3 separate regions of the Homo sapiens genome follow, and all the other regions are linked to region 2. Evidence: promoter capture Hi-C in 16 types of primary human blood cells and fetal thymus (Javierre and others, 2016). All regions are on one chromosome and are shown on one strand. The core of a region is centred on a gene start or on the middle of the fragment in contact, and the rest is flanking DNA. Distances in the headings are between cores, read along the strand shown.

Evidence for each region. Contacts are between HindIII fragments. The CHiCAGO score rates a contact against its expected background, and 5 or more counts as called.
Region 1: a contact is called between a fragment that was not itself captured here and the fragment with the promoter of TARBP1 in region 2, in 1 of 17 cell types (naive B cells). The highest score is 5.0, in naive B cells.
Region 3: a fragment that was not itself captured here is called in contact with the fragment with the promoter of TARBP1 in region 2 in 3 of 17 cell types (total CD4 T cells, activated CD4 T cells and naive CD4 T cells); the score reaches 5.7 in total CD4 T cells.

The regions. Positions count from the first base shown.
Region 1 is chr1:235,161,972-235,164,671 of GRCh38, reverse strand. No RefSeq gene overlaps it. Among named protein-coding and RNA genes, the nearest start is that of RBM34, 2.1 kb to the right of the region's middle. The HindIII fragment of the contact is 183 bases long and covers 1,323-1,505 here.
Region 2 is chr1:234,477,924-234,480,779 of GRCh38, reverse strand. It overlaps TARBP1 (tRNA guanosine 2 -O-methyltransferase TARBP1), which reads left to right and starts at 1,601. Exons shown (of 30, transcript NM_005646.4): 1 at 1,601-2,607. The coding sequence starts at 1,677. RefSeq lists silencers at 1,485-1,674, 1,705-2,504. The HindIII fragment of the contact is 13,603 bases long and covers 1-2,856 here.
Region 3 is chr1:235,145,857-235,148,950 of GRCh38, reverse strand. RBM34 (RNA binding motif protein 34) reads left to right here. Exons shown (of 11, transcript NM_015014.4): 6 at 504-547. Among named protein-coding and RNA genes, the nearest start is that of RBM34, 14 kb to the left of the region's middle. RefSeq lists an enhancer at 1,330-1,389. The HindIII fragment of the contact is 1,157 bases long and covers 1,251-2,407 here.

The sequences.
Region 1 (2,700 bases), core at 165-2,664, 680 kb before region 2:
TCTTGGCTCACTGCAACTTCTGCCTCCCAGGTTCAAGTGATCCTCCTACTTCAGCCTCCCGAGTAGCTGGGACTACAGGCACGTGCCACTGCACCCAGCTAATTTTTTGTATTTTTAGTAGAGAGGGGTGTTTCACCGTGTTAGTCAGGATGGTCTCGATCTCCTGACCTCGTAATCTGCCCGCCTTGACCTCACAAAGTGTTGGGATTACAGGCATGAGCCACCGCGCCCACCCAAGATGATACGTTTCTTAACGGTGTTCTCCAAAACGTTTTTTTTCCTACTGAAAAAACTTTAGAGTGGGGTCTTGTTAATTTCTTTTTTTTGTTTGTTTTGTTTTGTTTTAGACAGAATCTCGCTCTGTCGCCCAGGCTGGAGTATAATGGCGCCATCTTGGCTCACTGCAACCTCTGCCTCCCGGGTTCAAGTGGTTCTCCTGCATCAGCCTCCCGACTAGCTGGGATTACAGGCGCCCGCCACCATGCCTAGCTAATTTTTGTATTTTTAGTAGAGATGGGGTTTCACCATGTTGGCCAGGCTGATCTCAAACTTCTGACCTCAGATGATCCACCCACCTCGGCCTCCCAAAGCGCTGGGATTACAGGCGTAAGCCACCGCACCCGGCCTCCTTTTGTTTTTTTGAGACGGAGTTTCGCTCTTGTTGCCCAGGCTGGAGTGCAAATGGCGCAGTCGCTGATCTGAAACTCCTGGGCTTGCATTCCTTCCGTCTTGGTCTCCCAAAGTGCTGGGATTATAGGCGTGAGCCACCTTGTCCCACCATGTCCTCATATTTTAAAAAACTCTCAAAGCAGTAAGTGATCTCTAAATGGTTAAAAACAGCACTGAACAGCAATGAAGATAATTTTAAAACTATCTGCAACCACAGCTGCTTTCGCAGTCTGTTTTCTTCTATAAGTATCTGCTACCTAGCTGGGCACAGTGGGTCATACCTGTAATCCCAGCACGTTGGGAGGTCAAGGCGAGCGGATCACCTGAGGTCAGGAGTTCGAGACCAGCCCGACCAACATGGAGAAACCCTGTCTCTATTAAAAATATAAAATTAGCCAGGCATGGTGGTGCATGCCTGTAATCCCAACTACTCGGGAGGCTGAGGCAGGAGAATCGCTTGAACCTGGGAGGCGGAGGTTGCAATGAGCCAAGATCGTGCCACTGCACTCCAGCCTGGGCAACAAGAGTGAAACTCCGTCTCAAAAAATACACAGAATAGAATTCTATAATTCTAGAAATATAGAATATAATTTCTTCACTGGACTGGATAGAACAGATTTTTGAGTTGTATCGCATGCATGTATGGATAAGCTTTCTTCATCTTTGTGAAATACCAGAAGATCAAGATTATGGGAAACCAAAATAAGGGGCCCAGTAATCAAAACCCAGGGCCGAGCAGTTGAATATTGTGGATTTTTTTCATAAATTTCTCTGAAGGGGGAAGTAAAAGTCACATATATTCCCAGTCAACTTGGTTGAGTAGCTTTCAAAAAGCTTAGGCTGTCCCCAAAAGACTCAAAGTCAAATCCTGGCTGGATGCAGTGGCTCACGCCTGTAATTCCAACCCTTTGGGAGGCCAAGGCAGGAGGACTGCTCAAGCTCAGGAGTTCAAGACCGGCCTGGGAAACACAGTGAAACCCCAATCTCTATTTAAAAAAAAAAAAAAAAAAAAAGGCCAGGCGCGGTGGCTCACACCTGTACTCCCAGCACTTTGGGAGGCTGAGGTGGGCGGATCACAAGGTCAGGGGTTCGAGACCAGCCTGGCTAACATGGTGAAACCCGGTCTCTACTAAAAAAATACAAAAATTAGCTGGGCATGGTGGCATGCACCTGTAATCCCAGCTACTTGGGAGGCTGAGGCAGGAGACTCACTTGAACCCGGGAGGCGGAGGTTGCAGTGAGCTGAGATCGCGCCACTGCAGTCCAGCCTGGGCGACAGAGCGAGACTCTGTCTCCAAAAAAAAAAAAAAAATTAGCTGGGCATGGTGCTGCTGCTTGCAGTTCCAGCTACTCCGTGGTGGGAGGATGGCTTGAGCCCAGGAAGTCAAGGCTGCAGTGCGCCGTGATCTCACCACTACACTCCAGTCTGGGTGACAGAGCAACACCTTGTCTGAAAGAAAATAAGAACAAAGTCAAATCCTATTTTGCCACTCAAACTATTGGATGATTTAACTAGTAATCTTTTATTACCCTGAGAGTCAATTTAACAAATATTCACTATGTACAGCTAATAGAGACACAGCATACATGATGAATAAAACATAATCCTTACTGTCTTGCCTTTACATCTAAAGAGACTGTAACTAACACTAAAGCAGACCAAAAATGATTATAGTAAGTACCATGGGGGCTTGGGAAAATATCCCTATTGTAAATAGCAAAGAATTTTTTTTTTTTTTTTTTTGAGCCAGGGTCTGCCGCTTAGGCTGGAGTGTAGTGATGCGATCACAGCTTACTGCAGCCTCGACCTTCCAGGGCTCAAGGGATCCTCTTGCCCGAGCCTCTCAAAGTGCTGGGACTACAGGCGCCGAGCGCGAAGGTGCCCGTCTAATTTCTTTTCTGTAGAGAATAAGTCTCGCTAGATCGACCAGGCTGGTTCAAACTCCTAGTCCTCACGCAATCCTCCCACTTCGGCCTCCAAATGTGTTAGGATTACAGGCGAGCCACCGCACCTGGCTGCAAAGAAATACT
Region 2 (2,856 bases), core at 352-2,851:
TGCCGTTTAGTGTTTTCGAGCTTTTACATGTTAGCCATTCTCATCAGTATGAAGTGGTACCTCATTGTGGGTTTAATTTGCATTTCTCTGATGACTAATGATGTTGAACACTTTTCCAAGTGCTTATCATTTGTGTATCTTCGTTTGTTAAGTGCTCAAGACATTTACCCATTTATATTTGTTAGATATATGTTGACAGAAACAATAGTTTTCTGCACATTTTATGTTGAAGGTAATTGATATTTACTGACATGTTAAAAGGGCTTAAAATAGAAACATTTATGCATTTTGTCAATGAAAAACGGAATGACTGAAATATGAAAAAAGTCTTGCCTGTGTAATGTCAGATAACCTTAAAGTCAGATAACTTTATATAAAAATAACTGTAAATTTAAATAACTAATTTTTGTCTTATCCATTATGTTATTATATGTCAAGCTCTTTGAAGTTGGGACCCTGTTTTCTCTATTGACTAAGAGGCAGATCTTTGTGTTTAGTAGCGAAGAAAACCCTATGTCACTGATCTAGTTTGTCTCAAATTGAGCCAGGAACCAAATCCACACCATGCATGCCGAGGTGAGGTTTTCTGTTTCTCTATTTAGCAATGGATGCTGTCAGAAATACAGAAAAGACAGACACAGGGACTATTTTTGAGTTTGCACATGGGAGCACATGCATTGTGCAGGAGGCTCTGCATCCTGGAGTCATCTTGGGCACTTGGCTGTGAGGGCTGGCGTGGGCATCTTGGTTTTAGCTGAATCCTAGCACATTGCTATAGGTACCTCTAAGGCAGGAGAATAGGGCCTGGAGGCAGGGAATCCAAAAACTCCCTAGAACCAAATCAGATAGAAACACTTCAGCTATGACAGGAAATATCCTCTTCATTTACATAGGGAGTACACCAAGTAAATAACTTTGTAACTTCATTTTATCCTCTTCAGTTACATAGTGTGTACACCAAGTAACCAATTGAAACCTCTATAGGTATTTAAACCCCAGAAAATTCTGTAACCAGCCCCCCTTGAGCGGCTTGCTTGGGTCTGCCCCCACCCTGTGGAGTGTACTTTTGCAATAAATCTCTGCTTTTGTGGCTTCATTCTGTCTTTGCTTTGTTTGTGCGCTTTGTCCAATTCTTGGACCTGGACACCCTCCACCGGTAACACTTCTCACTCCTGGCCTTACGTCTAAATCATTCTTGTGTTTTCATGACTTATTTTTAATGCAGATGTCCAGAACCAATTTCAGACCTACTGTGTCAGTCTCTTTGTGGATGGTGCCCATCATGCAACGTTTGGAAAATAATCTAAAGTGATTCTGCTGTGCACCTTCTGTGAACTGGTTTATGCTCACAGGCACGCCTGATTTAGGGTCCTGGGCAGACCAACCTCCAATCAGGAATCGATGAAGCTGGTGTAGATACTACATTAACTTTTAACGAAGGCCTCGTTTCTCCTAAAAATAAGAGACCAGGTGGGTTCTATCTAGGCAGGGTTGGTGGCAGGAACCCAAGGGAAGCTGAGCTGCACCAAGCCGGGCTGGGATCCCCCTCTCTGCGGCCGCGCGCCCGGCTCCGTCGGCGCACGCGCACGTAGGGGCCGGCCGGTCCTGTGCGCACGCATCGCACACGCCGGCGCCTTCCTTTGGGAGCCCGGGCCGGTGGCGCGGGCGCTCGGCAAATGGAGTGGGTGCTCGCGGAAGCGCTGCTCTCGCAGAGCCGGGACCCCCGGGCCCTGCTTGGGGCGCTGTGCCAAGGGGAGGCATCCGCGGAGCGCGTGGAGACGCTGCGCTTCCTTCTGCAGCGGCTCGAGGACGAGGAGGCGCGCGGCAGCGGGGGCGCAGGCGCGCTCCCGGAGGCGGCGCGCGAGGTGGCTGCAGGGTACCTCGTGCCACTGCTGCGGAGCCTGCGCGGACGCCCCGCGGGCGGCCCGGACCCCAGTCTGCAGCCTCGCCACCGCCGGCGCGTGCTGAGGGCGGCGGGCGCGGCCCTGCGCTCGTGCGTCCGCCTGGCCGGGCGTCCGCAGCTGGCGGCCGCGCTGGCTGAGGAGGCGCTGCGCGATCTGCTCGCCGGGTGGCGCGCGCCTGGCGCCGAGGCTGCCGTGGAAGTGCTAGCAGCCGTCGGGCCATGTTTGCGGCCCCGCGAGGACGGGCCGCTACTGGAGCGCGTGGCGGGGACCGCCGTCGCCCTGGCGCTGGGCGGGGGCGGGGACGGGGATGAGGCCGGGCCTGCCGAGGACGCGGCGGCGCTGGTGGCCGGGCGACTGCTGCCAGTGCTGGTCCAATGTGGCGGGGCGGCGCTGCGGGCCGTGTGGGGCGGGCTGGCCGCGCCTGGGGCGTCCCTGGGGTCCGGCCGCGTAGAGGAGAAGCTGCTGGTCCTGAGCGCCCTGGCCGAGAAGCTGTTGCCCGAGCCCGGCGGCGACCGCGCCCGCGGCGCGCGCGAGGCGGGCCCGGACGCCCGGCGCTGCTGGCGCTTCTGGAGGACGGTGCAGGCGGGGCTGGGCCAGGCGGACGCCCTGACGCGCAAGCGAGCGCGCTACCTGCTGCAGAGGGCGGTGGAGGTGTCGGCGGAGCTGGGGGCCGACTGCACCTGCGGGCCCCAGGAAGGAAACGGTACCTGCCTCTTTGCCCCCCAGCCTAGTGCTACCTACTTGGCTGCCCCAGAGGGGAGTCTTCCTGCTTCTAAAAACTAGCTTATCGGGGTCGTCACTCCGATCCATGCAGAATTTGGTTATTCCGCGTTGCTCCCCTAAAGCCTGAAAACCTTTGGAACCCCTTCTCGAGGGTGTTCTTTGAAGTCACAAATCACTGCGGTTGGGAACGTTCTAACCCAGAGCCGGTGGAATACAGCACCCCTGGAAT
Region 3 (3,094 bases), core at 580-3,079, 670 kb before region 2:
GGAAAAACTTATCCTAAGCCACGAGCTTCGTTTCATATAGCATTAAGATGATTGGCCAGCCGTGGTGGCTCATGTTTGTAATCCCAGCACTTTGGGAGGCCAAGGTGGGCGGATCACGAGGTCAGGAGATCGAGACCATCCTGGCTAACCTGATGAAACCGCATCTCTACTAAAAATACAAAAAATTAGCCGGGCGTGGTGGCGGGCGCCTGTAGTCCCAGCTACTCAGGAGGCTGAGGCAGGAGAATGTTGTGAACCCAGCAGGTGGAGCTTGCAATGAGCCGACATCATGCCACTGCACTCCAGCCTGGGTGACAGTGTGAGACTCCATCTCAACAGGAAAAAAAAAAAAAAATTAGGACAGTTGTTTCTGATTTGTTTATTTCCCTAGAATGTTTTTGATCACAGTGTACTGGAGTTAGATACTTAGACTTCACTTAAAATATTAATTTGAGGTAATACTTCAAATACTGTCTTTAATACTTTTTTTTTTCTCTTGAAAGATTCCAGCAGAGGGAACGCTATCCAAAAAGTTGGCAGCAATAAAGTAAGTTTATAATTAGAGAAAGGGAGTCACCTTAAACTTTCTTCCTTTTTGGCTAAAAAGTGAGACCATTTCTTAACAATTGCATAGATTTTATTAATATATTTGGATAATAGAGCATGATTGACTGTTTGCTTCTGTATTTGAGAGCCTTTAGATTTGTCACGTTTTTCTTTAAGCCATAATATAATTTACAGAGTCGTAGAAAATATTACTGGAAAATGAGCCATGAGAAATTTTAAGAATGTTTTTAGTGTTTGGAAGAGAGTGTAAAGCTTCATGCCTAAATTTTCTCATACAGATTACAAATGCCATATTTCCTGTGTTTTTCCAGAGAGAATTCATGTTTGCTTGTGCTGGTCACCTGGGTATACTGCCAGCCTGTGACCACTTGGCGTTCTCTGTTTGAGGGTTTTGGACCACACTGGTGGTGGCTTGTTACCAGTGCTCAGGGGATTTTTTTTGTTTCCCACTCAGTGTCAAGAATGAAACCTACAAGTCTCCTTGTTCGCCCTTCCATATGGAAGGCTTATTTTTCATTTACCTTCAGCTTTATGCCGGTTTCCTATTAGTCTCATATCTTGGGTGTTTTTCTCTCTTAATGGTATATGAAATGATGAAGTTTATAAGCAGATATTTCTTTATATTAGATAAAATATAATAATGTACTTTAGAAACATTTCTGGGAATCCTGTTCTATCAAGCTTTTGTATGGCAACAGTCCCTTTGGACATCTTGGTGACTTCATTTCAATATTGAGTCTTCATTTGGAGTTATTTGGCCGACCAGGTCTTCGCCGGTTTTTCCTCATAACCATCACAGTGCCAGGTGTATAGTTAAGAGTTGATAAATATATAGATTCCCACAGTGTTTGCTGAGGTAACCAAAGATGCAGATCCTCCTAGATACCAGGCATTGTTCAGTGCTGTGGTGACTAGAAACCTTAGTAAGATACAACCCTTCTTTTTGAGTCATACTTTTATTTCTGTATGAAGTTGAAACCCAGGAGCCTAAATTTGAACAGAAACAGAGGTTCTGACAGGTGTATGTACAAGTACTACTGAGGAGTTTAGTGGGATATGTTAGAAAATTGGAATTTTCACACCATACCGTCAGCTTCTCCTCCAGCCCCATCTCATTGTTTTTTTGTTTCTTTGTTTTGTTTTGTGTTTTTAACATACAAGCTCTTGCTCTGTCACCCAGGCTGGAGTGCAGTGGCAAGATCTTGGCTCACTGTAGCCTTAAACTTTTGGGCTCAAGTGATGCTTCCATCTCAGTGTCCCCAGTAGCTGGGACTACAGGTGTGCACACCACCCTGGCTAATTTATTTTATTTTATTGTAGACACAGAGTCTCATTATGTTTTTCAGGCTGGTCTTGAACCCCGGGCTTCAAGCAATCCTTCTGCCTCAGCCTTCTAAAGCAGTGGGATTATGAGCATGAGCCACTGCCTTTTTGTTGTTGTTTTTAATTTAAAATTTAATGATGGCTGGCTGTGGTGGCTCACACCTGTAATCCCAGCACTTTGGGAGGCCGAGGTAGGTGGATCACTTCAGGCCAGGAGTTTGAGACCAGCCTGGCCAACATGGCAAAACACTGTCCCTACTAAAAATAGAAAAATTAGCAGGGTGTGGTGGCACATGCCTGTAGTCCCAGCTACTTGGGAGGCTGAGGCAAGAGAATCGCTTGATCCCAGGAGATGAAGGTTGCAGTGAGCCCAGATCACGCCATTGCACTCCAGCCTTGGTGACAGAGCTAGACTCTGTCTCAAAATAAATAAATAAATAAAATTTAATTATACACCTTTTCTCTAGTCAGCCAATTCCCTACCCTAGGCAAGTGTTTTTAGTTTCTTATGTAAGCTTCTAGAGACATCTTAGCATTTAAAAACTGATACGCATAGATGTTCTTCTTCCCACATAAAACAGTTTAACTCACTGGTATTTAATATATGCACTACTCCACACCTTCCCTTTTTCTGCTTAGTACAACTTGGAGATCTGTTTATATTGGTGTGAAAGTGATTATTTTTATAGCATTTTTTAAAAATGCCCTTTTTCTTAGAGTATTCTCTAGGTGTGCCTTAATTTATTTTATCAAATCTCCCACTGATGGACATAAAGTTTTTTCCCAGTCTCATGACCATTACAAATAATGCTGAAGGCCGGGTGCAGTGGCTCACGCCTGTAATCTCAGCACCATTAGAGGCCAAGGTGGGCAGATCGCTTGAGCCCAGGACCTCCCTGGGCAAAATGGCAAAACCCCATCTCTACAAAAAATTAGCTGGGCATGATGCTGTGCACTGTAGTCCCAGCTGCTTGGGAATCAGACGAAGGAGCACCTGAGCTCAGGAAGTGGAGCTATGATTGCACCCCTGGCACTCCAGCCCGGGTGATAGAGTGAGACCCTGTCTTCCAAAAAAAAAAAAAAAAAAAAAAAAACCTGCTGTAATATTTTAGCTGGTCATGGAGGCACGTGTCTGTAGTCCCAGCTACTTGGGAAGCTGACGTGAGATGATCACTTGAGCCCAGGAGCTTGAGGCTTCAGTGAA